Regions from separate parts of the Homo sapiens genome. Here regions 1 and 2 are each linked to region 3. Evidence: promoter capture Hi-C in 16 types of primary human blood cells and fetal thymus (Javierre and others, 2016). All regions are on one chromosome and are shown on one strand. Each heading gives the region's core, a stretch centred on a gene start or on the middle of the fragment in contact. The rest is flanking DNA. Distances are from core to core; before and after follow the strand shown.

Region 1 (4,495 bases), core at 361-2,860, 1.8 Mb before region 3:
TGTGGTGGTCGGCGCCTGTAATCTCAGCTAGTAGGGAGGCCTAGGCAGGAGAATTGTTTGAACCCGGAGGTTGCAGTGAGCTCAGATCTCACCATTGCACTCCAGCCTGGGCGACAAGAGTGAGACTCCGTCTCAAAAAGTAAAATAAAATAAAATGTTTTCTCGCCCAGAATTACTGCAAATCACAAGCCTGAACATCCTTGGAAGCTCAATTCAAACACTGCCTCCTTCCCCAGTCTCTCGGTGCCCGACAATCCCTCCTCAAGAGTCCTCAGCATTTCCCACAGTCATTAACTTTTGCCAGTTTTAATTACCGTAATTAGTACCCTTCAGAAAGCAGCTCTTAGAAAGCGAAGGCTGGGCCTTACTCACCTCCGTCTACCCTACAACAGCAGCTCCCAAACCACTGGTCTCCAGCCCCCGCTGGGTTGGCCTGGGGATTTAGTAACAGATTCGGAAACCCCACTCTCAGGGATTCGGATTTACTGGGGCTGAGGTGGGCCTGGAAATCTGAACGTCTTAAGTTTTCCAGGTTTTCTGCCCCCAAGTTAAATTTTGTAATAAGGCCCTAAACTACAACATCAAGCTGGAAGTCTTGCATATGAAATATTCACGCGTTTTGACAGATGAAACCCGGAGACTGTAACCCACAGGACGCAGGGATTAACACAGGCCCTGTTTCAAGCTGCTAGGATGCTGAGCTCAAACCACAGCCCACAGGGACTCCCACTGGCAGGGGCCAGCGCTTAGGAGATGAGCGGACCCCTTAACTTCAAGGAGAGGGGGAACTTCCCGTGGACCAGAAAAAAAAAAAAAAAACTACTGTTAATTATCACAAAATCACAGGATGACAGAGGAGGCATCCTGTCTTCCAGGCTTCAAAAACACGAAGGATTAAGATGGTGATTAATTCAATCTCCAGTGCAAATAAAAACGCCAAGCCCCTGAACTTGCACCGGCCCGGAACGCGGCCGTTCCACAGCCCGCGGGTGAAGTGCGGCCCGGAAGCCGCGGGCGGGCGACGCGCAAGGCAGCCCAGGCCGCGGGTGGAATCGGGGCGCGGGGGCCCGCGGTGCCGCCGGGCGTTCAGAGCCGGTCCCTCGGGTCGGCCCACGCGGTCGCGCCGGCGCCTTTCACCGCCACGCAGAGGGGCCGTGGCCACGACGGCTCGGCCCTTTCCTTCCTGCGTAGCGAAAATGGCGGAGCGGCCTCTCCGAGCTCCGCGAGCGACCGGGCCTCCGACAGGGCCGCCAGTGGGCCGGACGGGGCCTGGCCAGGCAGGAGCAGGCCCCGTGCAGCCCGCGCCGCCCGCCGCCTCCCAGCGCGGGCGCCGCCTCAGCCGCCCCGGGCCTCAGGCCGCCCCCATCCCGCCTGCTCTCCCTTCCCTGGCCGGCCCGGCGGCAACGCCGCTTACCGGCAGCCGGGCGCGGCGAGCGCTCGGGCTCCGGCAGGTCCCCGAAGAGGTCCATGGCGGAGGCTGGGTGGAGGCGGCAGCAGCGACAGACACTCAGCCCGCGAGCAGCGGCCGGGCTCCACACCCCGGGCGGGCGGCAGCAGCGGGCGGGCGACGGGCAGGGGCGGCCGGCGCCGTCAGTCACCTGCAGGGAGAGTCCCGGACGCCACCAATCGGCGCGCGGCGTGGCCCGGCCGCCCCAGAGGGCTGCGCGCGGGCTGGGCGGGGCGGCTGGGGGCGGGGCGGTGCGCATGCGCGTGGGCCCCTCCCGCGCCCCGACTGCGAGCCGGGCGGACGGCGCCGTCTGGGCCCCGCGGTGTTTCCCGCCTTGGCGAACCCCGGGCCCCTCCTGCTTTTCCTTGGCTGGGGGTGTCCGATTTCTGTCAAGTTTCGTTGAGTTCCTGTCCAAGAAGCCCTGTCCAGAGAGAAACGTCTGAGCTCAAGGGCAGCCCCTGATGCCTGGGAAGGCTTTCTGGAGCTCTTGCCATCTCTTCGGCTCGTCCTTTCACCACGGCGTGCCTGGTTTCTGGCCTGTTTTAGAGACTGAGAAACCGAGGCTTGGATGGAGCGGCCCTGGGCGTCAGGACGGAAACCTCAAAAGATGCCGGAGGGAAAGGAGGCATTCCCTGACTTGTCTGCACCCACTGGTGTCTGTGGGGAGCGGAGAAGAGGGGCTCCTCCTTAATGGTGTCCCCCTCCATGCCTGTAAAGAGAAAGGCGGCCACTGACATCGGGGAGCTGGCCTGGTTCTGCAGCCAGGACTTGGGGTTGGTCTGGCACAAACAGCTAGGCCTGGGTGTTCTCTTTGAATGTGAACAATTTCATAAAACACCAACATCAGGCCGTGATACAGATCAAGAGAAAAAAACAGACCACTGTGTAATCAAGTGTGAACACAGACAAAACAGGAACACTGTCCAAGCCACAAAAGTGACCACATTCCCCTCGTCTTGGCCAATAAGAGTGATTGCTGCTTCTTTACCATTACATGTTTAGCCTTTGTCTCGTCCTCCTGCCGTCTAGATAAGCTTCATCAAGATATCCAATCATGGAATCCTCCTCTTCCTGACATCCAATCCGGAGCAAAGGCCCGTTTCCATAAATGTTTCCCCAAATCAACTAACACAAACCCAAATCTTACACCTCCGTTCCAACATCGTTTACCCAAGTTCCCCAGGTTATGTGGTCTCCCTCCATGCAAAGAGTTTTCAGCCCAGTTCATTCTGGGGCAGATGTATTTCTGACGCTCTCTGGCTGTAGGACATGGAGGGAGCCCAACAAGGCTTCATGCCTCTCATCTGCGTGGCTTCTCACTAGCAACCGTTTGAGATATTCATGCTGCCTCCTCCATTACAGCAGAAACACTCAAGTAACAATGCTTGTAACCGTTAAAGAAAGAGGAAATAAATACAAAAAGCGGCTCAACATTAAAAGGTTTATTTCAGAGAATAAACCTGAGAGGGGATTCTGGCCAATTTCGATCAGGAGCGCTCTCTCTTACAGACTAAGCATTCTCTCTTACAGACTAAGGATATTTAAGGGTTTTGGAAGTGGGGGAACGTTTATTGCAGGGTTGGAATGTCTCTGGTCGGAGGGGAGGCTATTGGAGGAGAGGTTATTTCAGGGTTAGCATGTTTCTGGTTGAAGAGAGGTTTATCTTAGGGTTGGAATATTTCTGGTTATGCTGACATTAGCCGTTAGGCTGATGTTTTGGGGTAGGATTTAGGTGGTTTTTTAATCAAGGGGAACTTAGAAAGGTGGTGTTTGTCCAAGATGGCAATGCTCCTGCTCTATCAATCCAGTCTCTATAGTTATGAAAAGGACAAGGGGCAGCGCATTTTTTCTGGCTACTTCCTGCTGGGGGAGTGAGCAGAGAGTTCTTTGGTTTCAGATTGATTGTAGGAGTAACGCTGTCTGTAGATGTTTTTGGGTAATTGTCTGTGAGATGGCCATGATCCTGCTGGTTAAAAATCTTTGAAAAAGGTGGCCAGGCGCGGTGGCTCACGCGTGTAATCCCAGCACTTTGGGAGGCCAAGGCGGGTGGGTCACGAGGTCAGGAGATCGAGACCATCCTGGCTAACATGGTGAAACCCCGTCTCTACTAAAAATACAAAAAAAAAAAAAAAATAGCCAGGCATGGTGGCGGGTGCCTGTAGTCCCAGCTACTTGGGAGGCTGAGGCAGGAGAATGGTGTGAACCCAGGAGGCGGAGCTTGCAGTGAGCCGAGATCTCGCCACTGCACTCCAGCCTGGGCGACTGAGCAAGACTCCGTCTCAAAAAAATAAAAAAAACTTAGAAAAAGGTTAATTAAGCAGGGTAAGAACATTATTCCTAGGCATATTTTTAGGAGAGAGCCCAGGAATGGGATGACCCATATTAGGACTTTGTTTTTAAACCAGTAATTTATTTGGTTGTCTTGTTATTCTCTTAGCTTTTTAGCCCTTTCTTTAAGTTTTTTAGCAGCGTCTCTTACTAGGCCCAACTGATTGAGATAGAAGCAACATTTTTTACCGAATGAGAGGCAGAGGTCCCCTCTTTCAGTTGTTATAACATCTAATTCCTGTCTATTTTGGAGGACTACTCCAGCCAAGGAGTCTACTCCAGCCAAGGAGTCTAGTTGGCCTTGGACTCTTATAAGGCTTTGGGCCATATGCTCTAATGAACTCTGCAGTTCTGTTGAAAGAGATTTCAAGTATGTTAAGCAGGTGGCGAATCAGCCTGCTCCCAACCCAAGCCCGGAGGTTATACCTAAGGCAGCCATTAAAGGAATGACGTGGATGGCTCTCCTCTTCCTAACATATTGGATGGATGGAACGGGTAAAGATTGATTAGGAGGAACTAGTCCAATGGAGGGAGAAAGATAAACTAGGGTACAGGTTCTGGTCTGGTTGATGGGGAGACAAAGAAATATGTGTTGAGACCACACAAAAAGAACAAGCCTTTATTGTAAATACAAGCAGAGATATGGACAGAAAATAAGTGAATTAAAGATGAGGTGTTTGTTCTTTCCTGTGGTTCATTACTCCAGGTGGACAAGGAGGA
Region 2 (4,568 bases), core at 935-3,434, 1.6 Mb before region 3:
GTTGGTGGGTCTTTTGGGCTCAGAGGACCTGGAAGAAGAGGGACTCTGGAGAGGTGAGGTCAGAGGGGGAGACAGGCTGTAGGGCTGGACAGTCTGGATGTGATCCCAACTCAGCCACCTGTGGGCTATGTGGTTTTGGGCATAGCACCAGGCCCCCAGATCTCAGGGTCCTGAGAAATGGGGGTGATGGTATTGGCAGAGTGGCCAGCAATTGAGTGTCCTTCCCCCTCCAGCACTGCTGGCTCTGTGGACACTGCCCTGCACCATGTGGGCATTTAGGAGGCACGGAGGTGGGCATGTGAGGCCACCTCCCCGCTACAGACCACGTGCGGCCTCAGGTTCTTCTAAGAGGCAGGATCCCAAGGGCAACACGTGGCAGGGAAGGTGGAGGTGCAGGTGCAGGAGGGCCACTCTGCTCAGGGACTCAATACCTTGATGCAAAGGCTACCGACACGCAGAACGCTCACTGTGAGCCCACCGGGACCAGGCAGGCAGAGCAGCGGAGGCCCCCGGAGACGTGGCTCTCACCAGGCTGCACTTTAGAATCACCTGGGTGCTCTGAACCACCCAACACCCAACCCGCACCCCTGACTGACTGCACCGGAACCTCTTTTAAAAAATTCTTTAAAACAATTGTGGTAAAATATATAGAACATAAAACTTAACCTGCTTTAAATGCGCAGTTCAGTACTGTTAATGCACAATTCACATTGCTGTGTGACCCGTCTCCAAAACTTTTTCATCTTCCTCAACTGAAGCTCTGTCCCCATGAAAAACTAACTCCTCATTCCCCACTCCCCCAGCCCTTGGCAACCCCCATTCCGCTCCACCATTTCACTGCTCCAGGGACCTCAAATAATTGGAATCACACAGTACTGTATTTGTCTTTTTGTGGCTGGCTTATCTCACTCAGCATAACGTCTTCAAGGTCATCCGTGTTGTGACGTGTGTCAGGATTCCCTTCCTTTCTAAGGCTGAGTACGAATCCATTGTATGGACGGACAGCATTTCCTTTCTAAGGCTGAGTACGATTCCATTGTATGGATGGACGGCATTTCGTTTATCCATTCATCCATCCAACAACACGTGAGGCGGCTTCAGGCTTCGGAGTTGCTGAAGCTCCGAGTTCGGGATGTGCAGCTGTGGTGGAGCCAGGGGCTGGGCACACCCCTGGCTCCTGGCCTGGCAGCGTCATCATCGGAGTCACCTGTCCCTCATGCCAGTGGTGCTCTCTGCTGTCATCAAGACCAAACACCACTGTAGGAAGTACCCCCACTCCCGCCTCCAACCCCCACAGGGCCTGCCAGGTCTGCCCCCAGTGGGCCCCCTGGTGCATCTGGGCCACCCAGGGCCAGCCTCAGCAGGGGCACTCGCGGGGCTGCGCCTGCGGCTTCCCTTACTCCAGTCTGGAATGTTGTACACACGGATGAGCCAGCAGCTCACGCCCACGACTGCTGGGGTCTCCGGACTCCCTCATCAGCCTCCTGCTGTGCTGTGTACAAATCCTCCTCCTGCATGAGGCCCCGCTGTCTAACTCAGCAGGGGAGAATGGGAGGAGCCAAGGGAATCCGTGCTTTAGGACCAACACCAATACTCATGGTGGGACGACGCTGCGATATTTGAAGTTGGGAGTGTGCAAGAAATGTTACTCGGTTGTTCACGAATGCATTCATTTATTCAATGAACTTCGCGTCAGCCACTGGCTGTCATCAGTTACCGACCTGATTGAGGGCTTCATGGAAGGGATTTGGAGGAGCATTCATCTAAAACCACAGCACGCTGCGACGCTCAGCCCTGCAGTGGGCCCTCACCAGTCCCCGCGCCTCCGAATCCACCCTCCCGGGGCTGCTCGTGGCTAGCGGGGGGCACCTGCGGGGACCAAGCCAGCCCGGCCGAGGCCCGGGTCCCGCCCGCCACGGCCCTCGGGGCCCCGCCCACATCTGGCAGAAGCCACGCCCCGTCCGTGTGGGTGGGGACGGCCCGCCGGACCGAAATTCCCAGACTGCTGCCTCAGGCAACGGGCTTTCCGACTCCTTGGCTTCTTATGTGAGGAAACCACAGCGCGGCCGGCATCCAGAGAGTCGGTTAGCCGCGAAGTTCCCGCCGGACGAAGGGACCAGCCAGCGCCCTGCTAGACAGCGAGGCCGGAAGCGGAGGCGTGGCCCCTGCGCGGCCCCGGAAACCAGTGAGGCCGGCGCGCGCCCGCCGGAAGCCGCGACCCCGACGCGCCCCCCATTGCCCTCGGCGCCGGAAGTGGTCGCGGGTCGTTCTGCTTCCTGCCCGAGGGGCGTGCGCGGGTCAGGGGCGGCCGCGGAGGCGGAAGCATCCATGGCGGAGGGCGGCAGCCCAGACGGGCGGGCAGGGCCGGGCTCCGCAGGTAACGTGCGCGCGGCCACTGGGCCGCGGGGCGTGTGGGGATGGCGAAGGGCTGGCTCCGGCGTCCCTGCCGAGGTCCTGCGTCCTCGTCCCGGGCTGGCCGGGTCCACGGGGCAGCCAGGGAGCCGCACCCTGCAGGCCGGGGGTGGGGTTCAGCGCGGCTCGCAGTGCTGGGCGACCCCACCACGGACGCGCTGCCCTCTCCTCGGCCTCGAGTGCAGTCCCCGCGCTAGATTTTCTTTCCGGTGGAACTTGCTCGTAACTTCCTTCCCGTTAGCCGATACAGATTTGATATGACCCAACCGCAAAAGTAGGACGTGGGCCACCTTCCAGCTCTGAGCGCACGGATCAGGAAAGCCAGCCAGAGGGTAGCCCTAGGGAGGGCAGGCACTTTTTCACCATTCTGCCGCCCACGGCGTGTCCGGTGGTACAGCGGGGGGCAGCCTTCCCACCCACCACAGGCACAGACCAGGGACAACGGGGACGCCGTCTCCAGCGAGCTCGTCAGTGACACAACATGTCCAGGGGCCTTTGGCCCACCAGCAAGGGAGGCAGATAGAAAGGCTCACACCCACCTTCCAAAATAACTGTCCTACTTAGGGTCTCCACCTTGCAGTGTCCCTACCATGCAGATGTGAAGGAAGCGGTCAGGACAGGTTCCCGTTTCCCGGTGGTGTGGTGGGAGTTCCTTCTTGCTGGATTTCTGAGCTTGCCATTCGCGCCAATAGTTTCGTGTGTTCTGGGCTTTCTTTACATGCCTATATTTGTCTTTGGAGGGGTTCCTCTCCTACTTAGTAATAAACCAATACATTTCTTAAACATCTTAAAAGATTGACTTGGAGACTGGTGCAGATAGGCTTTTCCATCCATCCCTCCCTCTGCACCTCCTTCCAATCATTTAACAGACTTGTATTGAAGACCTGCTGTTGGCTAGACCCAGCAGAGGATACTGCAGTGACCAGAAAAAGCCAGACAAAGCATCTACCATCCTGGGCTTTGGTTGGCGTTGACTTTGACTTCAGAGACAGCCAGGACCTTAGGGTCTAGGATGTCATCTCATGTGAGAGTGAGAGACGGAATGATGCGTGTTCCGTGGGAAAAAGAGGACCAACAGCTACTTCCCAGTATAAAGAGAGTTCCTGGGGAATAAACACTGGCTTTGTCGGCTGCACAGGTCTCCTTTTTTTTTGAGACGGAGTTTCGCTCTTGTTGCCCAGGGTGGAGTGCAGTGGCGTGATCTCGGCCCACTGCAGCCTCCGCCTCGGGGGTTCAAGCGATGCTCTGGCCTCAGCCTCCCTAGTAGCTGGGATTACAGGTGCTGGCATCATGCCCGGCTAATTTTTGTATTTTAGTAGAGACGGGGCTTCACCATATTGGCATATTGGCCAGGCTGATAGCGAACTCTAGACCTCAGGTGATCTGCCCGCCTCTGCCTCCCAAAGTGCTGGGATTACAGGCGGCAGCCACCACACTCAGCTGAGGGCTCCTTTTTATATCCTCATGCACTGCTGTTTTGTTATTCAGTGTGTTTCGGCCTCGGGTAGAGGGGCAACAGATTTTCAGTTGAAGCTTAAGTGCTATCCTGGGGCAGTTGTGTTGTCATTGGAGTAGTTGATCAGCGAAACACAAACTTGAAGTTGCTTTTGAATCTGGAGCTGGGGAAAGATTCTGAGTCTACTTTGAGCAGGGCCAGGAATGGATAGCACAGAGGCCAGCAGAGGGGGCCCAGAAGAGGGCTCAGCAAAAGTCCTGTGGCCGCCATTTACCTGTTGGTTATTGCCCTACACCTGAATCTTTCCCACTCCGACTTTGAACTTTTTCACTCTGTAGTAACCGCAACTGTGGAGTAATTACAGGGGAGGATAGTTACTGAAGGAAGACTGGGGTGGTGGCTTAAAGAGCTGTTCATGCCGGCTTGTTGATCTGCGGCGAGTCTGGTTGTGGGATCAGCATGAGCAACTCAGTGGACTGTCAAACCCTGCAGAGCCGGGACACTTACTCATCACCCCCGTTTCACCTGTGGTTGAGTCTCATGTACAGTAGTACTGAAAAGAGATTAATTTTAATATAAAAAACAATGTCAGCATCTGGAAAGAGCCCCCTTATGGAGGGGGTGCTTTATACCTGCCTGTCTGGTCTCACACTAGGACAGCATGGCAGAGCAGGGACTTGAATCCAAGTGGTCTGAGTTT
Region 3 (4,440 bases), core at 1,258-3,757:
AACAGAGCTAAGGTGAAATGCAACATCCATATCCTAGCCCCCAAGTCTGCTTTCCCTCACAGCAAGGAATATCCACTACCTAACAAGCAAAAGAGAGCAAATTTGAGTGTCGTCTTTGATACCTTTCTCCTTCCTTCAACTGCAGAATTACACACAAAATCCTAACTGTTCAGACTCTCTGGACACTGCATCGCCTCCCTATGCCATGTGCTGACTCTGTCGGCACCCTCACACCTCTCATCTACAAGGCAAAGACCTGCTTCAATGCCTGTCTCCAGCAGCCCAATTTACTCTCCACACTAAAGTGGGAACATTCCTTCCAAAAAAAGAAAAGAAACATAACCAAAAGTAAAACAAACTGAAGAAGTTCAACAGATATGATGGGGTAATAACCTTACTATATACAGAAATTGTACAGAACAATAAGAAAACAAAGAATAAAAACACACAGCTTATTTTAAAATTATAAAATATAGCCAAAAACCACATGAAAAAGTGGTCAACCTTGCTACAAAAAAACAAAAGACTATTAACAAGGAAACATTAGTTTTTCATGTGTCAAAATGAGAAATAATTTAAAAAATGATTACAGAGTTAGGACAAGACAATGAGTACCATCCTAAACTGCTAATGGTAATGAAACCTAGAGGACGCTGGGTCTACAGCATTAGGAATCCATTCAAAGAGTATATACATAAGATTGACCTATAAGGATGCTCAATGAAGTATGATGTAACACCAAAAATGCAAATAGAAACCCTTAAATGTCCAACAACGGAGGAATAGTTAAACAAAATTAAGGCATATCCATATTATGGAATACTAAGTACTCAGAAAAACACAAAAATATTAAAATACTTTATAGTGAAATTTAAATAAAACAGGAGAATATGAAATATCAAGATATTTTTCGATCTTGATTTGATAACTGAAGAGTAAGGAAGAAACAAGTTACAAAACAAGGCAAAGCAGACAACCCAATTTAAAAATGGGCAAAAGATGTAAACACCTCTCGCAAATGAAATTAACGCAGATAGCAAATAAGTATATGAAAAGATGAACACTGTATATCATGAGATATTCCAAAGTTGAAACAAGATACCACTACGCAGCTATCAGAATGGATAGCAATCCAAAGTAACCGACAGCCCCGCATGCTGGCGAGCACGCAGAGCAACAAGGAGAGCCTTCACTTCTGGTGGGAGTCAAATGGCACAGTCACTCTGGAAGATGGCTTGGCAGCTTCTTAGAAAACTAGTCTTACTACATGAGTAATCGCTCTTCCAGGTATTACCCAAATGATATAAAAATGTATTTCCAAAAAGAAATCTGCATGTACACGATTACAGCAGCTTTATTCATAATTGCCAAAAACTTGAAGCAACCAAGATGCCCTTCAATTGCTGAATGAATTGAAGTACATCCATGCAATGAGATATTACTCAGTGATTAAAAAGAAATGAGTTACCAAGCCACGAAGACATAAGTGAATCTTACATAGATATTTCCAAGTATTCAAGGCGTCTGAAAAGGCAATATATTGTATGATTCTAATTATATGACATTCCAGAAAAGGCAACTATGGAAATGTTAATGAGATCTGTGGTTGTCAGGGGTTGGAGAAAAAGAAGGGTTTAATAGGTAAAGCAGAGGGGAATTTTTTAAGGCAGTGAAGCTACTCTGTACGAACCTATAATGGTGGAGACATGCTATTACACACGTGTCAAAACCTATAGAACCTTATAGCACAAAGAAAAAATCCATAGAACCTTATAGCACAAAGAATGCGCTCAATGTATGCACATTTTAAAAAACGCATTAGGTAGAAGGATCCCAAGATGTAAGGCAGAATGTGACAAAGCAATCCAACTGTGTTACAAATGTATGAAACGATTTCACTGAAGAAGGTGGGGGCAAAATGCTAAGAAATGAGAGTAGTCAGTCAGAGTAAAGGCAAAAGGAAGCGGACACAAGCACTGAACTCCGTGTCTGCTCAACATGGCATCACCCAAGCACCCAGCAGGGCCCGACCTTTAAACGGCTCTTGACAGGGCTGCTACGTGAATTATCTAATGACAAGCGCGTGTGCCCCCGGCCTGCCACCTGCACACGGGCCTCCCGCATCAGGGCAGCCTCGGGGCCCTGATCACCTCCGCGCTCCAGCGTTTTGCTTAAAGCTGAGATAAAATGGCCTGGAGAAGCTCGTGGCCCCCTGAGGTCTGTCCACGACCAAAGACCAAACAATTCCGGAGGCAGGAGGGGTCCCCCAAACCCACCCGGAGAGCGACCTGGGAGCCGCCGCCAGAGGCCGGGGGAGATGTGGAACTGCTCCCCACCCCGCCACCCCGCCACCCTGCCACCCCGCCACCCTGCCACCCCGCCGCCCGCTCACCACGCGCTGGGCGCCCGCCGCCACGACCCGGGCGGACGCGGACGTCGCTGCCAGCTTCAGGAGCCGCAAGGCCATGGCTACCCGGTCAGCTCAGGATCAAGGACCCAAGGGGACGCGGTCGCGACGGGGCCCTCTCTCGCGGCCGGCGCGCTGCCGTGACGTCACGGCCGGGGTGCCCGCGGCGCCTGTCGGGAACCTTCCAGGGGGCGGGGCCGCGCCGAGGCCCTCGGGGGCTTCCGCGGAGACAGCCAGTGCGCTGCCAGGGTCCTGCGGGTTGGGGCGAGGGCCGAGAGGTGGGAGTTGGAGGTGAACGTGGGGGCAGCATGCTGGCTGCCCGGCCCCTGCCTGGGTTCTGAGTTGCTGCGGTGTCGCGGGAGCTGAGGCCGCCCAGGGCGTGGAGCGACTTCTGCGTCTCGTCCCAGGGTCCTGTGCTCCCCGCAGAATCCCCCAGGCGCGGTGTGGACGTCAAAGCGACCTCCTAGAGAACATTCCTAGCTCTCAGAACGTTCTCGCTGGGGAGGGAAAGTGGAAAAAGAGGGGGCGAGGAGCGGAGGGACGGGGTGGGACCCCTGTCGCGGGGCGCCTGTCAGGGAGAGGGACCTGGCAAGGCCGGCCTGGGTCGCCTCCGGAGCTGAAGGCTAAGTGGTCTCATCCAGGGGACCTGCTGTGAACACATTGAATAGCATAGAAAACAAAAGCACACGCTCCAAGTCCATCTCTTTTTTTTTTTTTTTTTTTTTTTTTTTTTTTTTTTTTTTTTGAGGCAGAGTCCCGCTCTGTCGCCCAGGCTGGAGTGCGGTGGCGCCATCGCGCTCACTGCAAGCTCCGCCTCCCTGGTTCACGCCATTCTCCTGCCTCAGCCTCCCGAGTAGCTGGGACTACAGGCGCCCGCCGCCACACCCGGCTAATTTTTTGTATTTTTAGTAGAGACGGGGTTTCACCATGTTAGCCAGGATGGTCTCGATCTCCTGACCTCGTGATCCACCCGCCTCGGCCTCCCAAAGTGCTAGGATTACAGGCGTGAGCCACCGCGCCGGCAAGTCCATCTCTTAAAATGTGCTCCCGTCAGGACCTGGGCTCTGGGCTCCACGAAGGAGCCTTGCATGTGAGGTTTCCTTCCAAGTATGCCTGCTGTTGGGAAGGGTTTTTATAATCTTTTGTGTTCCCCAGGCTTTTTGTTCTTAACCCCTTAAATATTCTTTAACTTTGTTTTCAACTTTTCAGAAATGATCATGCGATTGTAAAACAGTGGGAATGCAGCTGTGTAAACTACGGCCGGTTCTATGGATGTTTCTATAATTGAAGAATTGCTTTTTGTCAAAAATACGGATTCCCGGTCCCCAACGCAGGAGGGTCTGGTTTTTAGATCCTGGAGGGCACCTGAAATCCATTTAACAAGCTTTAGGGTTCATGTCTGCTGTTTTTTGCCTTGTTTCCTTTGCATTTTTTTTTTTTTTTTTTTTTTGTGCCTTCCAATGGATACAGTACATTTTTTTAGAATTCCATCTTGATTTACTGATAATGTCTTGGGAAATATCATTATGTATAGTTTTCGTAGTGGTTCCTCTAGGTATCACAGCACGCAGACGTAACTTCTCACAACCTGTTTGCGTGGATGTTTTGTTGTACCTGAGCGAGTTAGAAAAACACCACCTTTGAGACGAATTAAGAGTCCTTTATTAGCTGGCGACCGAGAGACGGCTAACGCTCAAAATTCTCTCAGCCCCGAGGAAGGGGCTTGATTAACTTTTATACCTTGGTTTAGGAAGGGGGGGGGGTCTAGTTAAAACAATTTTACAGAAGTAAAGTAGTCAAAAAGTTAAAAGGGTAAATGGTTACAGGAAAGTAAACAGTTCAAGGTGCAGGGGCTTTAAGACTATTACAAGATGATAGACCCGGGGCTTTGGGCGTTATCAATCGGACAAATTCCTGGGAACTGCGGATGTAGCTTGCCACAGTATCTTACCAGTTAATTGCATTCTTGGATGTGGTGGGAGTCAGCCTGCACAAGTTAAGTCCTTGAGAAAGGGGCTGCCAGTGAAAGAGCC

Evidence for each region. The method cuts DNA at HindIII sites, captures the fragments that hold promoters and counts their contacts. A CHiCAGO score of 5 or more calls a contact.
Region 1: a contact is called between the fragment with the promoter of ILKAP here and the fragment with the promoter of NDUFA10 in region 3, in 1 of 17 cell types (total B cells). The highest score is 7.5, in total B cells.
Region 2: a contact is called between the fragment with the promoter of ASB1 here and the fragment with the promoter of NDUFA10 in region 3, in 8 of 17 cell types (fetal thymus, total B cells, naive B cells and 5 more). The highest score is 17.2, in fetal thymus.

The regions. Positions count from the first base shown.
Region 1 is chr2:238,202,085-238,206,579 of GRCh38, forward strand. ILKAP (ILK associated serine/threonine phosphatase) reads right to left here and starts at 1,611. Exons shown (of 12, transcript NM_030768.3): 1 at 1,415-1,611. The coding sequence starts at 1,469. RefSeq lists enhancers at 598-657, 1,620-2,492 and silencers at 1,028-1,117, 1,238-1,807. The HindIII fragment of the contact is 5,343 bases long and covers 1-2,479 here.
Region 2 is chr2:238,424,743-238,429,310 of GRCh38, forward strand. ASB1 (ankyrin repeat and SOCS box containing 1) reads left to right here and starts at 2,185. Exons shown (of 5, transcript NM_001040445.3): 1 at 2,185-2,377. The coding sequence starts at 2,329. LOC124908002 (a long non-coding RNA gene) reads right to left here and starts at 2,152. Exons shown (of 2, transcript XR_007088163.1): 1 at 1-2,152. RefSeq lists enhancers at 766-1,301, 2,814-2,933 and silencers at 1,634-2,023, 2,044-2,563. The HindIII fragment of the contact is 6,850 bases long and covers 1-3,943 here.
Region 3 is chr2:240,022,835-240,027,274 of GRCh38, forward strand. It overlaps NDUFA10 (NADH:ubiquinone oxidoreductase subunit A10), which reads right to left and starts at 2,508. Exons shown (of 10, transcript NM_004544.4): 1 at 2,393-2,508. The coding sequence starts at 2,467. RefSeq lists a silencer at 2,435-2,694 and an enhancer at 2,503-3,332. The HindIII fragment of the contact is 3,872 bases long and covers 1-3,789 here.